Regions from separate parts of the Homo sapiens genome. Here all the other regions are linked to region 2. Evidence: promoter capture Hi-C in 16 types of primary human blood cells and fetal thymus (Javierre and others, 2016). All regions are on one chromosome and are shown on one strand. The core of a region is centred on a gene start or on the middle of the fragment in contact, and the rest is flanking DNA. Distances in the headings are between cores, read along the strand shown.

Region 1 (3,215 bases), core at 671-3,170, 500 kb before region 2:
CCACCTCGACCTCCCAAAGTGTTGGGATTACAGGCGTGAGCCACTGCGCCCAGCCACAAATTCATTTCTAAAGTAAAAAATGAAACACAATTTCACATTTGCCTCCTGAAGACAAATGAGATGGCTGTTCTTAGAGCATCTCTGAAGAAAGATGCTATAAATAAAGCTCAAATGATTATTATCTAGAATTAGGAAAGCCAAGACTCAAAGAAAAATTCCTCTTAATCATTTGTTCATCTCAAAATATTATAAGTAAATGTTTAGAAAAGCTTGTCAGGTTATCAGAGAATCTGATTTTCTTATGTCCTGTCAGTTTACTGTCCTACAGTTTACTTTTTATAAAAGTAAGCTTCACAAGGACTAATCTTTCTGCAAAAGGGATATTGAGAAGATCAGTACAATATCTTTCTTCCCGTGGTCTTAAAAATAATTGTGTGATTATTTGTTATAACAAAAACCAGACTCTTAGAATCCTTGATTCTGAGATAAGTTACTGGCGAAAACTCCTTCACTGGAGGTATTTTTAAAAATAGGACAAAATTTGATGTCTTTAGATTGATAGAGGAATAGTACTACTTGGGAGAGCTGAAATGGATTAAATGTTTCTTGCCAAACTTTATTATATCTATGTCCTTTGTTGGAATGGATAATAAGGGGGTTGTGAGAGTTACAAGGAATTGGCAACAGTTAATTCTATAAAATAGGAACTCCAAATGCATGTAAGATATGTGGGAGGCCACACAGATACGGAACCATCTGGCCTCTATCCTGTTTGGCTGTCTGAGAGCGCCAGACTATGCAGAACACACATTCAACTTTTAAACATCCTCTTTGCAATGTCTTCACTCAACGATGTCACACGCAGGTGTTAATATGGCAATGTTCTTGGTTGCCTTGGCAATTTGACAAAATAAACTTGGAGTTTTAGCCCTTAAAAAGAAATGTACAGGTGCTAAAACTTTTTTAAAAAGGATTAGCTATTTTGAGATTCAATAGAATTTAACTATTTTTAAATGTCAAAGAAAATCCAGAGTTCACTAAGATGTAATTAAGAAGTGAAAACACTTTCTTCCCACATTGAACGGAAGTGGTTTTATTTGCTCAAAAAGAGATACTGACTTCAGGACCAGTGTTTTAGCAATAAGGAAACTACTCACAAGTAAAAAGTTCTGCTTTTTAAAAACCCTGGAAATGCCATTACTAAAATTGATCACGTACTTATTTACTTTTGGTTTTGAGTAACTTCTAGGATGTTTAAAAAATAAAACCCACCCTCACAGGACAGGGATTTTCCACCAGTGAATATAAACATATAGAAAGGAATATGCTCTAGAGTTGGCACTGTATTCTCAAAGGGGAGTCCCTCAATTAGTTTGGTCAGTTTTTCTTTGAAGTAAATTTAGTCTCTTCCAAGGTAATACTTTGATAAAGACAACAATTATTTTTCCATCCAAGTTCTATCACACACTCTTCTTGGAGTTGTAGGATGGCTGCCAGCGCATGCTTCTTGTTTCATAACCAGTAGGGGGAGCAAGAGTGCTTTTATCGAGCATTTGCAAGCAAAAGTTCTGGGATTCATCCTCACTGGTCTAGCCTAGGTCACATACCAGTAATTTTTGCTGGGGGAATGGATTCTGCAGCTTGGCTTAAACCAAACTGAATTATTTCCAAAGTTACAAGCAGGACTAAGTTTCCCGAAAGCACAAGGGCTTTGTGGAGGAGATGTGAATACTTTAAAAGCTGGATATTGGTAAGAAGCGGGAAGAGGACAATGAATCTTGAATTCGTGTGTTCAAAAGTGAAAATATTGGAGTTTCTGAGTTTCAAGGTAATGTAGAAGGTAAGCAAGCAGGCATTGTCAGTATCCTGAGGGATCATGTCCAAGAACTTTACAGAACCCAAAGGCAGAGGAGAGAGCCAGGAATGCTGGTGTCCTGAGGAACATGCGGCAGTGGCACTGCTCTTCCTGGGCCCCTAGGGGCGCACCACTGAGAAGCATCAAAAGCACCTTCAGTTTGGCAGTCTGGAAAAGGAGATCTTGCAGCTGAAATCAAGGTGAGAAAGAGTAGCAGCTTCCTTTAGAGGCGAGTGTCTTAGGCATAAGCACGTCCTCAATAAGGCAGTGGTGGCAGCCACTGAAATATGACACTGAAAAAGAGATTGCCTGTCCCCAAAATATTGTGGAGGTTGTGTTACTAGGTACCATCAGTGCAGCACATTAAGTGCTGGGAACACAGAGCTCAGTGGGGAAATGGAAATCTCTTGGGATCCACAGGATAAAAAAGAAAGAAATCTCAGGTAAAAGCTGGTGCTTGGGTTGTACTTGTTGCAAATTTATAACTTTGCCAGAAGGCAGTGTTGTCTCAAATTTATAAGAAAGGAGACAGTTTATGTAGGACATTCCCCTACCTTAGATATAGTCAGCGTATAGTGCCTAAATTGATTTTCCGTGGGGAGAAGTCTCCTAACTGTGTTTAGGTTCATAGACCATGGATTACGGACAATTGCATAAACTTCCTGGCACCCTGTTGAGAGCCATCCATCTTCCCTTCCTATTTTGGATATCATTAAATCACAATAAATACTGTATTATGGGAATAACATTTTTCCTGGGATAAGTACCTCCATTCTAGCGAGAGATATCTCAGATCACAGGTGTTACTGGAAAAACTCCTAAAGCTGAAAATGAACAGACCAAGGAATCAAAGAAGGCTTTACTTTCTCTAAACTTTAACTTAGAGAATTTGATTTTGGATTTTAATGTTTTTGGACTTTGATATGCTATGTTGAATAATATTATTGGATATAATTGAGGATGGGACGTGAAATGAAAGGGGAGTGAATTTCTGAGCTGTTTTTCCCCACAGTCTAGTTTCTCCACAAAGAACTGCATCTCCCATTCTTGGTCCATGTGTTTAGGCAAGGCTGACTTTAACCTCAGCCTCAGAAATAGGTACAGTCCCAGGTCTGACCAATAAAAGTACTTTGTTCTTCTGAAGGAAGGTGATTGGATCAGGGATAGACATGTGACCTCAGCAAAGCCAATGACCTTTACTAGATTTATTCAGAAAGAACATTCCCATTCGTTGGAATTCTAGTTGTGCGGATAATAAAAACCCATTGCTGCTGATAAATATTTTTATCATCACTTGGGGGAGGCTGTCTGAGAAAGAGGCCAGCACAGTGGAACGTAGAACCAAGTAATGGAGAGGCTG
Region 2 (3,214 bases), core at 593-3,092:
CTGAAATCAAATGAAAGCAACCTAGATGGGAGGCAATGCCTAACCCAACGGAATGAATATCTGATGGAATCATTGAAGTCATCAGAGACAAGTCTAATGAGAAACTCTTTCTGAGCGAGAGTTCCAGAGCATCCAAATTCTACTCCTCTTCCCCCCTGCCCCAACACGTCTTCGGGTCATGTGTTGGTAGGAAGATGAGCTTCTCTCCAAAAAGGGAGAAAGGAGGCCGGGCGCAGTGGCTCACGCCTGCAATCCCAACACCTTGGGAGGCTGAGCGGGCGGATCACAAGGTCAAGAAATCAAGACCATCCTGGCCAACACGGTGAAACCCCGTCTCTACCAAAAATACAAAAAGTAGCTGGTCATGGTGGCGTGCGCCTGTAGGACACACCCTATAGTAGCACGGCGGGCACCCCAGCTACTCAGGAGGCTGAGGCAGGAGAATCTCTTGAACCCGGGAGGCGGAGGTTGCAGTGAGCTGAGATCGCGCCACTGCACTCCAGCCTGGCGACAGGGCAAGACTCCGTCTCAAAAAGAAAGGGTCATTTACGGAGCCCCTCCCATGGGCTAGATTCTGATGGGCTGATACCATCTGGCTTAATCCCCACAATATTGTACTATGATCCTATGAACTATTCTTGATATAGAGGTGTTATTTGTCTTGGTTTTCACGCAATTGAAATCACTGAAGGCTCAGAGAGACAGTAAGTAAACTTGGGCAAGATCAAAGAACTACATGGCACAGAGAAGAGCCAAACCCCAGAGCTTCTGACAAAAAAAGCCTCCACACCGTGCCATTTTCCTCTGCCATCTCATTTCACCCAATGACAACGTGCCTGCAACCCTGGCTCCCTGCCCTGACTCTGAGGTTAATTTCCCTGCAGCTCGGAGCCCCGCCAAGGCTGGAGGAATATCCCACAGGCTCCAGTGAGCTGCAAAGCACAGTCACACTCCCAGGGCTATTAACAGCATCCGCTTCCTCTCCAAGGTTCAGGGAACTTTATCCACCAAGTGCCATGCAGGAAAAAAGAGGTCAGCCAGAGAGGAGAGGGTCACACGGGGCAATCACTAAATAAGGAGAAAGGCCGCACAGGAACTTGGCCCAATTTGGTGTCCTCAAAAGACGGTGCTCCCTGGCCAAGATTTTCCCTAACAAATATGGAAAAACAGTTTGAGGCCCATGCACGAAAATTGAAACTTGGTTCCTGTAGCTATTTGCTTGTGTAGCTACGTGACAAGCCTGGTGAGAAACGCTGGATTTCTCCCTCTTTCAGTTCTCTCCACCTGGCATCTGGGGGCCTAGTCCCAAAAAGTGAAAGGAACTGGAAAATAAACTTACTAAGATCCAGGAAATGATTTCAAAAAAAAACAGCCAACAAACCGAGGTGAGCAGGCGCAGTGGGTGGGTGTTATGAGACAGACAGCGGGGCTAGGAGATGCCCAGGATGAAGCCCGGAGACCTGCTCTCTGATTCCTCTTGGGTCTAGCTCATCACAGCCTGCTTCCCCACTCCCACTGCAACGTGACAGCAACAGCACATCTCACTTTCCAACATGCAGACAGCCCCCTGTGTTAACAGCACCGTCTCTGAAATCAGTGGAGCTGCATTTGACCCTACCTCCGTCAGGCCGTAGCTGTGAGTTTGGGAAAGGCGTTTGATCTTTCTGAGCCTCAGTGTCTTCATCTTCAAACGGGAAGGATAACATGTACATTGCTGGGCTGGACTAAAGATGGAAGGAGACATCATTAAGGGAAAGTTAGGGCCTTTGCTCCTTTCGCTCCCTCTACCATCTCTGTGTGGCATCCTCCTGCACTTCTTCAATTCCCTGCACAAGGGCCACCTTAACAGAGAGGCCCTTTCTGACCACCTATCTGAAAACGCAGTTCCTTTCACTCTCTGACCCTCTTCTCAGTTTGATTTTTTGGGTCACAGCTTCATTGCCATCTGGTAGATATTTATTTGTTTGTCTATAACATCACGCACACACACACACACACACACACAAAAGGAAGCTCCTTGAAGATAGTGCCTTTGTTTGTTTGTTCATTACTGTGTTGCTAATGCCAAAGTCACTGACATGTAGTCTACATGCAATAAATATATACTGATGTAATAAAAGGGTGGCTGCATGCTCCTGATTGTACGTTGGCAGCGTACTTAGTTTCCTTTCCATTTCTAGCTACCTGTTTTTAAGGAAATTTAAGGAAAAGGAAGTTCAACAATACTTACAGAAAAGTCAATCAATTTGGGTGTTGTCCATGCAATTACTGTCAACGGACTACAAGACTGACAATGCCTGCAGGAATGATGTCTTGTATATCTGGAGCAGCCTGCTCTCATGGCCTTGGGTGGGAGGCAAATTGAATTGATTTCTACATATAATTTCTTTTTCTTAGCTACAGAATTTAATTCTAAATTTCCCGGAAAGCTGTACTCTATCAGCTGTTTTCAAACTCTGTTCCACCAAGCCCTAGGTTTGCTTAGTTGCCAGGTAGCTGGGAAGAGGAAAGGACCTAGTATGTGGGGCTCTCAAAATCCCTGCTTCAACCAGCTAGTAAGTGACAGAGTCCAGATGAGAATCCAGCCCAGTCTGACTCCAGAGCCCACCATCTTTCCATCATACCACCTCCCCAGGGAGGGTGATATTCCTAAAATAAAATCTGATCAATTAACTGGGCGCTTCTCTCATTATTCCAGGACTTCAATACTGAGCAGATACAATCTGTTCCTCAAAGCTACTGACATATAGTCTGCCTATGATGGGAACAAATGGGAAACTGAGGTATAAGAAAATAAGTGGGAGGCTTCTCCAGCCATATATGTGACAGAGACCCCAGACCCAAACCAAGCCAGAGAGTCCACTATAGCAGACAGGAACCAAGGTGAGAATCAAGCTTTCTGAGCTTCTAGCTCTTAATCTCTAGGCAGCAATAATATCTATTCTTGTTGTCTCTCAGAACATTCTGTGAATTGATGAGATAGTGGATGTGCGGGTTCTTTGAAACTTTAAAGGTACACTCTGGTAAAACCTGCTTACTCTTTTGCTTCTATTGCTTATGGACTATGCGATGACCACAGAATTTCAATAAAGGGACAGCATGGGAATGGCCATCTGGTGGGACTCTGGGAATGGTCATGAAGCTGCCCTGGAATAACAAAAGCAAATTGATTTTGTTTAGATTGTAGGTTTGAGGTGGCTTGAGGAGGCAGATG
Region 3 (3,532 bases), core at 993-3,492, 400 kb before region 2:
ATGTTTTGATAACCTGTCTAGTGCTATCAGTGGGGTAAGTCCCCCATTTTTATTGCATTTCTGTATGTTTCTTTCTTTATGTCTAGTAATTTTTTTATGACTCTGGGTGCTGTTCCATTTTTAGGTGCACATATATTCAGAATTTTTATATGTTCTTGCTGATTTGATCTCTTTATCATTATATAATGGCCTTATTTGTATTTTTTATCATGGTTTATTTTAAGTCTGTTTTACCTGATATAAGTGTAACTACTACTACCCACTTTTGGTTTTCATCTGTGTGGAATATCTTTTCCACCTGTTTACCTTCAGTCTATAACTGTCTACCAACCAGTAAGGTGAGTTTCTTTTAAGTAGCATGTAGTTGCTTCATGTTTTTATCCATGTCATCAATGTATATCTTTTAAGTGGAAAATTTTAATTCATTTATTGTTAAGGTTAATATTGTCATGTGAGCTTTTGTTTCTGACATAATGTAGATTGTAATCTAGCTGTTTTGTAGATTCTTCATTTCTTTTTTTCCTTTGTCTTTGTGCTTTAGTGGAGTTTTGTCATGTAGTCATTGGATTTCCTTTTTTTACTTTTTGTAATTTTGTGTTTATATGATGGTGAATATTGACATTTTGTATCCACATTTAGAACTCCTGCAGAATTTCTTATAGGGCCAGTCTAGTGGTAATGAATTCCCTCAGCATTTGATTGTCTGAGAAGAACTTTATTTCTCCTCCATTTATGAAGCTTATTCTGAATAGGATATAAAATTGGTGGTTGACAGGGTTTTTTTTTTCCTTTAAGTACTTTAAAAATAGAATCTCTATTTTTTCTGGCTTGTAAGGTTTCTGCTTTTAAAGTCCACTATTATTCTAATGGTGTTTTCTTTATAGATGACTAGACACTTTTCTCATGCTGATTTTAGGATTTTTCTTTCATGTTGACTTTAGACAATCTGATGACTATATGTCATGTTGAGGTCCTTTTTACAATGTATTTTCCTGTAGTTTGTTGGGCTTATTGTATCTGGATGTGTAAATCTCTTCCCAAACTCGGGAAACTTGTTGTCAATTATTTCCTTAAATAGGGTTTCTGAACTTTTTGCTTTTTCTTCTCCCTTGGAAATACTTATACTTCATATGTTTGGTTGCTTTATGTAGTCCCATACTTCTTAAAGGCTTTGTTTGTTCTTCTTTATTCTCCTTTCTTTATTTTTGTCTGATTGAATTAATTCAAAAGACCTGTCTTCAAATTTTGAGATTCTCTTCTCTGCTCGTTCTAGTCTATTCTTAAGGCTTTCAACTGTTCTTCATAATTCTTTCAGTGAAATTTTCATTTCCAGAAGTTGTTTGTTTCTTTAAGATCTCTACCTTCTTGGTAAATTTCTAGCTCATATCAGGAATTGATTTTCTGATGTCTTTGCATTGGTATTCAGTTTTCTCTTATGTCTTATAGAACTTCTTTAAAATCAGTATTTTGAATTCTTTATCTGACATTTTGAAGATTTCTTATTGGTTCAAATCCATTGCTAGAGAATTACTGTGCTCCTTTGGAGGTGTTATAGCACTTTGTTTTTCATACTTCCAGTATTATTATCCTGATTTCTTTGCATCTGGAGAATTAGTCACTTCTATTATTGAATTTACTTTCATTGGGGTGTGACTTATTTTTCTTGGGAATGTGACTATAATGTATGCTGAGTAGGGTTATTTGGCTTTGTTTCTGGCTGTCTAAACTGGTGTAGACTCTGTATGATTTTCTTGTTTGTAAATATCCTTAGTGTACTGGTTTGGGTGTCCCAGATAATGATTTGGGCTATGGAACACACAGTGGTCCTGGTTCCATGCTTTGTATCCAAGGCAAGAGGGCAAAGCTGGGCAGTGTTGGGTTGTGCAAGTCTGCACTTGAACCCCACGATGGCATGTACAAGTGCTGGCCCTTACAAGGTTCAGAGAGCAATCCTCAGACCTCTGAAGAAACGCTCCAGCAATAAGCAGAGCAACTGCTGCTATGCCAATGACCCCATGAGGGAAAGAGTACATCCTAGGCTCCATGGCCTATCAAGGGGTAGTAAGACCCAGTTTGCTCTCATTAAACCCAGCAGGGCTCTTTCCCACAGCTGGACACTAGCAGTGCGTTGGGACAGTTAGCCAACTCAAATGCACTTTGCCTTTAGAGTGTGAAAATGCCTCAGGCTGCAAAACTTGCTACCGTGGTCAAAACCACTCCTCTCAGACTCAAACCCTCCTGGTCTTGTCCTGCAAGGTGGATTCCCAATTCCATTGTCCACAGCTGAAGCCCATGCTATTCTTGCCTCTCCATTCTGGCCATGTGGATTCCTCCTCCAATCAAGGTAAGATCACAAATCTCTGGCTAACAACTCTACAAACCAGTGACTGACACCAATGCTAGCTGGCAGGTTCCTGTGCAACCCACTATGAGTTAGCATCAGGAATGACCTCCTTCCATTGGTCCTTAAGTCTGAGAGTGCATGTGGGGTACTTCCCAGTGCTCTTCCTTCTCACAGTCCCTTGACTGTTCCCCAAGTCTGATCCAGGTTTTGGGAAACTCAAAAAGTTCCCGATAGCCTAGGTTGCCTGGCTTCCTGGTGGGTATGTGTATTGTGGAGCACTCCCCCTCTCACATATGGAGGGACTGATTCACAGTTTTCCATTTGGGCTGCTGTCTGTCTTGTTTTCAGCAGTATACAAAGTTTTCTTTCACTTTTATATTGAACAATCATGTTTCTACTTGGATGCAAATTCACAGTGTGAATCTCTACACACCACTTGCTATTTCCAAGTGAGCAAGGATTCTGGCAAAGCATCCATTCTGCTATCTCAGAAAAAAAATACTCATCTCTGTTTTATTAATGAGAGAACTGAAGTGCGTAAGTGTTTATACAACCTATAATCTCAATATGAACTTTGTGAAGTTATGCTGCCATCGGCCAACGAAACTTACATAACACTTTAGCCTAGTTTCCATTATGCCACTCATGATTCTGTCTGATTTCTGCCAGGAAAGTTAATGATGAATCTTTTCTGAAGATGTTCACATTACCAAGAAGAAATAACCCTGAGTAAAGTAAATACACTGGTGTTCTTCCTAAGAAAATGGAACCAGGCTTTCATATGCAGTTTAATTATTGCTTCTCTAGATGATTGGAGTGAGAGACTGTGGTTATTCTCATGGGTAACTTGTCCCCTGAGAACTTTATGTACGTTCAAATTCCTCAATTATTGTTAGTTCCCAGTCATTGGTCTCTAACATCCCAACATGACTCTATTTAACATCATGTTAGAGGTTCCACCCTGTGTGTCACCTTTTGGTGATCATTTATTGATCTCAGTGTAAAAGGTTGTCCATTGTACTAAGTGGCCTTATTTCACACTGGTATATTACTCTGAGTCTGCAACAATGGCCAGGGATAAGACCCCCAGCTAAAAATGATGTTCATTGCAGATACGATGATCCCTTCTTACAGCTCTTTAGGACTTTACAGAGTGCATTCAGAGACTTCTATTTTTCCTCACAGCAG
Region 4 (3,506 bases), core at 201-2,700, 480 kb before region 2:
CTTCATTTTTATCAACTGAACACACAGTATCTTTTTTATTCTTTTGTTCTGCGAGTTTGAAAGTTGGACTTTCTGAGGTAGACAAAGGATGTTTCAATATTTTAAATGATATTTGAGAGAAAGTTGTAATTTAAAGGACAAGGCACTAGATCGAGTCAGGTAGCTGACGATTAAATCTTTCCAACCCCTTACTCTCCCTTCTCTACCCACATTCCTATCCTACTCACTAGTCATGTGCCTTTGTAATTTCCATTCCCTTTTGCTAAATCATTGGGGAAACATTACACCTTGTTATATACAGAAATATGGGAATGCTTTAATAGATGAATTACTTCAACTTTAACCTGACTAAATACAACTTCCTTCGGAGAGCCTACACTATCTTTTATGTTTCTTGTCTCTGTCTAACATAATTACCAAAACTTCCAGAAGGTTTAGAGAAAAAAAGCAGTTTTCCCTAGAGCTATGAAAAAATATATTTGTTTTCTGAATTAAATGCTTGCATTTCTTAGCACCCTTAAGTTTGGTGAATCTATTATGAAGATATATAATAGCTTTCTGGACTGTCTTTGCTTTTACTTTTTCAATAATTCAGCTCACCTCTGGGTCTCCATTGCATTCCGGTGTTCTGTAATTAGATGCTACAAGAATAAAAAAGCCTGCCTGGAAATTTACTTCTTAGGAACAGCACGGTGACGCACAGTGCTAGTACACCTTCAGGTCTTGTTTCATGTGCTAGATGGTGTGAGCAAATGTGTGTGTGTGGGAAGGGAGTGGTGATTAATTTCACTTCTCACGTATCAACTCCTTGATGGTGTTTATAACTACAGTTAATCTAAGTCACCACAATAGATCATGATTTCAAAATCTCCCCAAAAAACCCAACAAATTAATTTTGACCTTATAGATGAAAACCAGAAATCTTGGTTGGCTAACTCAGTTGGCTTAAAATGTCAATTTAGTTTTCAGATTATCAAGCTCCATTATGTACAGGGCAGCCTCTGTCTGAGGAGGATAAATCATAAGTCTTCTGGGAAAAATTGCAAAGAAGGAGTTATGGAACATGAGAAACATGAGAATAGCTTTCTCTGGCACATGGTTGCCATCACCTGAAAAGATCAGGAGCTTCTGAGCCCAAGGCCTAGACAACCTATACCTCCCCCATTCAGCCCCCTCCCTCCCCTCTTCTTTAGCAATGAGGCCTATTCAGCAACACACAGGAAGAACAGCCTTTACAGGCCAGGATCCACTGCATATAGGAATCTTTCTCATTGAAATCTACAGAGCTCAAGAGTATCTGCATTTGGAGAAGAGCCTGGGAAGCAGCTATCCAAGCACTGGGTGCATTCCAATCTCAGGTACACATTTTCCCTACTTGATATAATTGACTTTTTTCCCTCCTCATCCTGCTCCTCCTTCTTTACTTCATTTTATCCTTCTCCTCTTTTTCTTTCCCAACTTCTTTCTATGCCCAGCCCAAGCAGGAACTTTCCTCACCACTAGGCCATTTAGATTTCTATAAAAAAATTAAAGTCTAGAGTCTATATATCATAACCATTACAGTATATATTAAGATGTGTATCTGGGCATGTTTATTTCTTTTATGGTTTTAATTTTTATTTCATTAGTTTTGGGGGTACAGGTTGTTTTTGGTTACATGGATAAGTCCTTTAGTGGTGGTTTCTGAGATTTTAATGTGCCCATCACCCGAGCAGTGTGCCCAATATATAGTCTTTTATTCCTCACCTCCCTCCCAACCTTCCCCCATCGAGACCCCAAAGTCCATTTTATCATTCTTATGGACATATTTTGTTATGCCTCTATACCTCAGTTTAGGCAGGAAAATGTGGGCCTCCTGAGATTTAAGGGCTCAATGTCTACATATTTATATTTTATGTTGAAATCACCTCAAACAAGTGTTCTATCTGACTGTAAATAGGTATAAAAGAGTACTATCAAAAGCTGGATGAAAATTCTAACTGTTCTTATCAATTGTGTGACCTCAAGAAAGTCATTTAGTCTTACTGAACCCAATATACAGGATAAAGTGTGAGGGTAATATGAAATTAAGTATGTGAATGTGCCCATCATAATGAATGTGTATTTCATACCATTGAGATTTCTATACTAGCTCTTTCTTCACTTAGCTCTCCCTGGACTTCTTATTTTGGCTCTTGAGCTGCCTGAGCAAAAATAGGAAGTCCAAGGACTGATAGGTGAAGCTCGTCCCATCCAAATCCTAGCTTTTATTTTCATTCCTTGTTTAACTTCCTGCCCTCCAAGTTCCCAGCTCTACAGCAGACATATTTCAAGCTGACATTACACGGGTATTCATTTATAGAAACTACTCAGAAGGAGATGTCCTGTCGCCAGCAAGACATCAATTCACAGAGTATACGTTACTGCAAGGAGCTCTTCCCTTCCACATAGGAAATCTGTCAAATGGAGACTAAATGCCCATTTGGTTAATAACAACACCCACTTGCTCCCTGCAGGAATTGTCTGATGAATGAGAGACCTTGTGCGTAGGGCCTGCCGCTCAATGCAGTGCAATAAAGGCACAGGGACTTCCTACCTGAAATGTTCAAAAAAGAATGTGAAAATTCATAAATCAGGGCAGTTATTTATATCAGGATAGATTATTCTTTCAAAAATGGATTATGATTGAATTATTCTAAATAGGATGTTCCCTTTGTGCATTAAAGCATTTGTTGAGGTTTATGTATTGGGAGTGGAAAATTAAAATATTAAATTCCTTGGCAATTGAAGCTGGAATTGCGGAGTCATAGACTCTTTAGCCAAAAGCTGAAAGAATTTAAAACTAATCTAAACCAATCCTCTCATTTCACAATTAAAAACCCCGATTTTTACAGTTTAACTTGCTTAAACTCACAAAGAACCAAATCTTGTTTGACCCTTTTTTATATTTTATAAAGTACTTGTGGTATAAAAAGAAATTTTATACTTTTACCTTCATTTATTCACCATGATATAGTTATTTGTGCTTCAGTTTTGCAGTGGAGGAAACCAAAGCTTTGAGAAGTTAACTTACCTGTCTACTGTTAAAAAGAGGAACCGAGGTGTGAAACTGAGTTTTTGCCTTCCCTGACCAAGACTCTGAAAAAATAAGTCACCAAGTACGTTAGTAAATTTCAATGGAGGTCTTACTTAATGTGTAACTCACTTACACTCTTCCATAATGAGTCCTTGCCATGTGGAAGGCACTCTGAAGAATACAAATAAGACTGTAAGATGTAATTCCTACTTCCACAAAGTAAAGCCCCCTGCATATATGTTTACTGATGTAATGCACCTTAAGGTTAATGACTCAATGTTCAGTAACTACCAGCAGGAATTTTCCCAGTATTCCACAGAGCATGAATGGATCAGGGCATATTTGTTTTCAGTCTTGATAGAGTTGGCTCTTTGAGTGCCGCAGCCGACAGTGATAGCCCAGCCTCAGCCAATGTTAACTAGACACAAGCTGCAGAAAAGGCATGGTGTGA
Region 5 (3,728 bases), core at 35-2,534, 340 kb before region 2:
AAATTAAACACAACAGGACTTGAAGATCCCTGGGTTCTCATGCTAGATGGCTGACACAGTCATTCACCTGGCAAAGAATGGATAGAGTGAGAAATGCTGAAGGAAACAAAAGACTGGACATAGTGTGTAAGAAAATACAGATCAGACAGAGTAAAACTGCCAACTTGAAAACCCACCCACACCTTCAGCCCTGTGTGTCACCTCTATGTGTTCTACACCAACATATGCACCACCATTCCATCCTAATAATAATATTATAGCTAGCACTCATCAGGACTGTGCTGAGTGCCCACATTTTGCCAACAGCTGAGCATTATCTCATTTAACTCTCAAAATAATCTCTTGACATAAGTCCTAATATCATCTTCATTTGACTAATGGATAAAATGAGATTCAAGGAAGTTAGATTAAGACCAGTGTCTCCCAAGTAGTAAATGTTAGGGCTTATGAGTTAATACAAATCTACCTCTTCTTAGAGTCCTAGATTTTATACCCAATGCTATATCTTCTCTGCAGAATTGGCTTTGTTGGTTGCACATGACATTAATGCTGCATTTATTCCACTTCATCTAGTATGCATTTATTTGTGCATTGCTCTACTATGCAACTTCATATGTTATGCTTGGTATAATAGATAGAATGAGTACATATAAATAGATTAACATTTAAAATAATTCAAATTCATTAAAAGAATTTTAATTCTTTTAATTTAGGTTGGGAACCACCCTGATTGTGTCTAAAGCTTGGTTCTATCTACTGGTGCTTGTGTAATCTTGAATAAATTATTCAAACTCTTTTTTTCTACCAAGATACTTCATGTATAAATTGGCAATAATAACTAATTAAATAATAGGATTAATGAGAGAATTCTATGAGGATGTACATATAAAGCATCTGGCATGAGACAACTATAAGTGTGTTTAAGATGTTAGATTCAAAAAACATATTATTTGGGAGATAGATTCACTTCAGGCATGTGACATTGGACAACTCATTATTCCCTTCCTATGACTCCATTTACTCAGACACAAAATTAAGAAGCTGGAAAGATGATCCACGAAGACCCTTTTTCTTCAAAAGTCTATTACTGTATAGATAAGTTATCCACTAAATTGTGTTTTCATATCCATAATTTTGATCTAGGAAATATAGAAAACAAATCATTGCTATAATAAAATAACACATACATTTCAGTTTTGTGCAACTCTGTTTTGTTCATCACAGGGTTTTTCTTTTTTATCTCTCCTTGCTACAGAGTATCTTGTGATTCTAAAATAACATCCATGGAGAATAATACAGAGGTGAGTGAATTCATCCTGCTTGGTCTAACCAATGCCCCAGAACTACAGGTTCCCCTCTTTATCATGTTTACCCTCATCTACCTCATCACTCTGACTGGGAACCTGGGGATGATCATATTAATCCTGCTGGACTCTCATCTCCACACTCCCATGTACTTTTTTCTCAGTAACCTGTCTCTTGCAGGCATTGGTTACTCCTCAGCTGTCACTCCAAAGGTTTTAACTGGGTTGCTTATAGAAGACAAAGCCATCTCCTACAGTGCCTGTGCTGCTCAGATGTTCTTTTGTGCAGTCTTTGCCACTGTGGAAAATTACCTCTTGTCCTCAATGGCCTATGACCGCTACGCAGCAGTGTGTAACCCCCTACATTATACCACCACCATGACAACACGTGTGTGTGCTTGTCTGGCTATAGGCTGTTATGTCATTGGTTTTCTGAATGCTTCTATCCAAATTGGAGATACATTTCGCCTCTCTTTCTGCATGTCCAATGTGATTCATCACTTTTTCTGTGACAAACCAGCAGTCATTACTCTGACCTGCTCTGAGAAACACATTAGTGAGTTGATTCTTGTTCTTATATCAAGTTTTAATGTCTTTTTTGCACTTCTTGTTACCTTGATTTCCTATCTGTTCATATTGATCACCATTCTTAAGAGGCACACAGGTAAGGGATACCAGAAGCCTTTATCTACCTGTGGTTCTCACCTCATTGCCATTTTCTTATTTTATATAACTGTCATCATCATGTACATACGACCAAGTTCCAGTCATTCCATGGACACAGACAAAATTGCATCTGTGTTCTACACTATGATCATCCCCATGCTCAGTCCTATAGTCTATACCCTGAGGAACAAAGACGTGAAGAATGCATTCATGAAGGTTGTTGAGAAGGCAAAATATTCTCTAGATTCAGTCTTTTAATGATGCAAAATCATCACAATGTTATTTTATCTCACTTAGATCTACTTTATACAATAACTCAAATGTTAAAATGCTATATGGTATATAGAATGTAAAATTTCATCTAATATTATTTTTGTCTTTAGTTGAGAAACAGTTCTAAGTATCCACGAGTTAGAAAAATACGATGACAATTTCTCATGGAGTTTAATGAAATATGTGTTGTCTCTTGTCATATTTTAGCCAACTATGAGTCATTACTGTTTCTTAATAAACTAATATTTCAGGCATTAATAATTTTAGGTATTTGGTACAGCTTGTTCATATGACAATTTATAAATGGTAAATAACTATATTAGAATAATAATATATTAGAATTAAAAGGCAGAGATAATTCTTTTTTTTTTAAACTTAGCCTATGACTATCAAAGACATCTTGAACTGAGAGAAAGAAATAAAAGAATCTCTGTTTGCTATTTAAAATATAAAATCATGACCTGGCCCAGTGGCTCATGCCTGTAATCCCAGCACTTTGAGAGGCCAAGGCAGGTGGATCACTTGAGGTCAGGAGTTCAAAACCAGGCGAGACAACGTGATGAAACCCTGTCTCAACGAAAAATACAAAAAAATTAGCCAGACATGGTGGTGGATGCCTGTAGTTCCAGCTACTTGGGAGGCTGAGGCAGGAGAATCGCTTGAACCCAGGAGGCGGAGGTTGCAGTGAGCTGAGATCGTGCCGTTGGACTCCAGCCTGGGTGACAGAGCGAGACTCCGTCTCAAAAAACAGAAGATCATAAGTAATCCCCTAAAAATTATTAGAACTAATAAATCAATTCAGTAAAGTGTCAGGGATACAATAACAACATACCAGAATAAGTGGTATTTCTATATACTAGCAATAGGTAATCTAAAAATAAAATGAAGAAAATTCCATTTACAGAACCATCAAAAATAAGATGCACAGTAAAAACGATTACAAAAAGAACTGCAATGCTTATATTCTTAAAACTATAAAACCTAGTTGAAAGATGTTCAATAAAATCTAAATAAAGGAAAACATTACTTGATTATGAACCAACATTGTACAGCTGGCCACATTCCCTAATTGATATTCAGATTAAATACACTTCCTCTCAAATCCCAGCTGGCTTATTTGCAGAAATTGGTAAACTTATCCTAAAATTCATAAGGAAATTTAAAAGCCCAGAATAATATTTTAAAAAGAGAACAGAGTTGGAGTCCTCTCACACCACAATTTCAAAAGTTACAACAAAAACTGTAGTAATCAAGATAGTATGGTAATGGCATAAGAATAGACATATAGACTAATGGAATAGAATTGTGAACCCGGAAATAAACCCTTACATTTGTGGTCAGTTGATACCCTGTAAGAGGGCCCAAAGGACTCAATGAGGGCATGTAGCCTTTTCAACAAATAGTCTTGGGATAATTGAATGCCTACACACAAAAGAATGAAGTTGGACCCCTGTCTCACATCATACACAAAATTAATTCATAATG

Evidence for each region. Contacts are between HindIII fragments. The CHiCAGO score rates a contact against its expected background, and 5 or more counts as called.
Region 1: a contact is called between a fragment that was not itself captured here and the fragment with the promoter of OR9Q1 in region 2, in 1 of 17 cell types (endothelial precursors). The highest score is 8.2, in endothelial precursors.
Region 3: the fragment with the promoter of OR5B2 here is called in contact with the fragment with the promoter of OR9Q1 in region 2 in 17 of 17 cell types (activated CD4 T cells, M1 macrophages, naive CD8 T cells and 14 more); the score reaches 18.3 in activated CD4 T cells.
Region 4: a fragment that was not itself captured here is called in contact with the fragment with the promoter of OR9Q1 in region 2 in 1 of 17 cell types (endothelial precursors); the score reaches 9.0 in endothelial precursors.
Region 5: a contact is called between the fragment with the promoter of OR5B17 here and the fragment with the promoter of OR9Q1 in region 2, in 16 of 17 cell types (erythroblasts, M2 macrophages, monocytes and 13 more). The highest score is 11.9, in erythroblasts.

What each region holds. Positions count from the first base shown.
Region 1 is chr11:58,523,076-58,526,290 of GRCh38, reverse strand. No RefSeq gene overlaps it. Among named protein-coding and RNA genes, the nearest start is that of OR5B21, 17 kb to the right of the region's middle. RefSeq lists a silencer at 1,401-1,695. The HindIII fragment of the contact is 3,138 bases long and covers 352-3,215 here.
Region 2 is chr11:58,022,509-58,025,722 of GRCh38, reverse strand. OR9Q1 (olfactory receptor family 9 subfamily Q member 1) reads right to left here and starts at 1,842. Exons shown (of 3, transcript NM_001005212.4): 1 at 1,619-1,842. LOC107984331 (a long non-coding RNA gene) reads left to right here and starts at 1,304. Exons shown (of 3, transcript XR_001748218.1): 1 at 1,304-1,636; 2 at 2,699-2,883. The HindIII fragment of the contact is 4,257 bases long and covers 1-2,897 here.
Region 3 is chr11:58,426,831-58,430,362 of GRCh38, reverse strand. It overlaps OR5B2 (olfactory receptor family 5 subfamily B member 2), which reads left to right and starts at 2,242. Exons shown (of 3, transcript NM_001005566.3): 1 at 2,242-2,344. The HindIII fragment of the contact is 6,968 bases long and covers 741-3,532 here.
Region 4 is chr11:58,503,321-58,506,826 of GRCh38, reverse strand. It overlaps LOC105369313 (a long non-coding RNA gene), which reads left to right. Exons shown (of 5, transcript XR_007062673.1): 3 at 1,285-1,358. It overlaps OR5B21 (olfactory receptor family 5 subfamily B member 21), which reads left to right. Exons shown (of 1, transcript NM_001005218.3): 1 at 1-20. Among named protein-coding and RNA genes, the nearest start is that of OR5B21, 3.0 kb to the left of the region's middle. The HindIII fragment of the contact is 3,170 bases long and covers 1-3,035 here.
Region 5 is chr11:58,356,625-58,360,352 of GRCh38, reverse strand. OR5B17 (olfactory receptor family 5 subfamily B member 17) reads left to right here and starts at 1,284. Exons shown (of 1, transcript NM_001005489.2): 1 at 1,284-2,229. The coding sequence starts at 1,284. The coding sequence ends at 2,228. The HindIII fragment of the contact is 4,652 bases long and covers 745-3,728 here.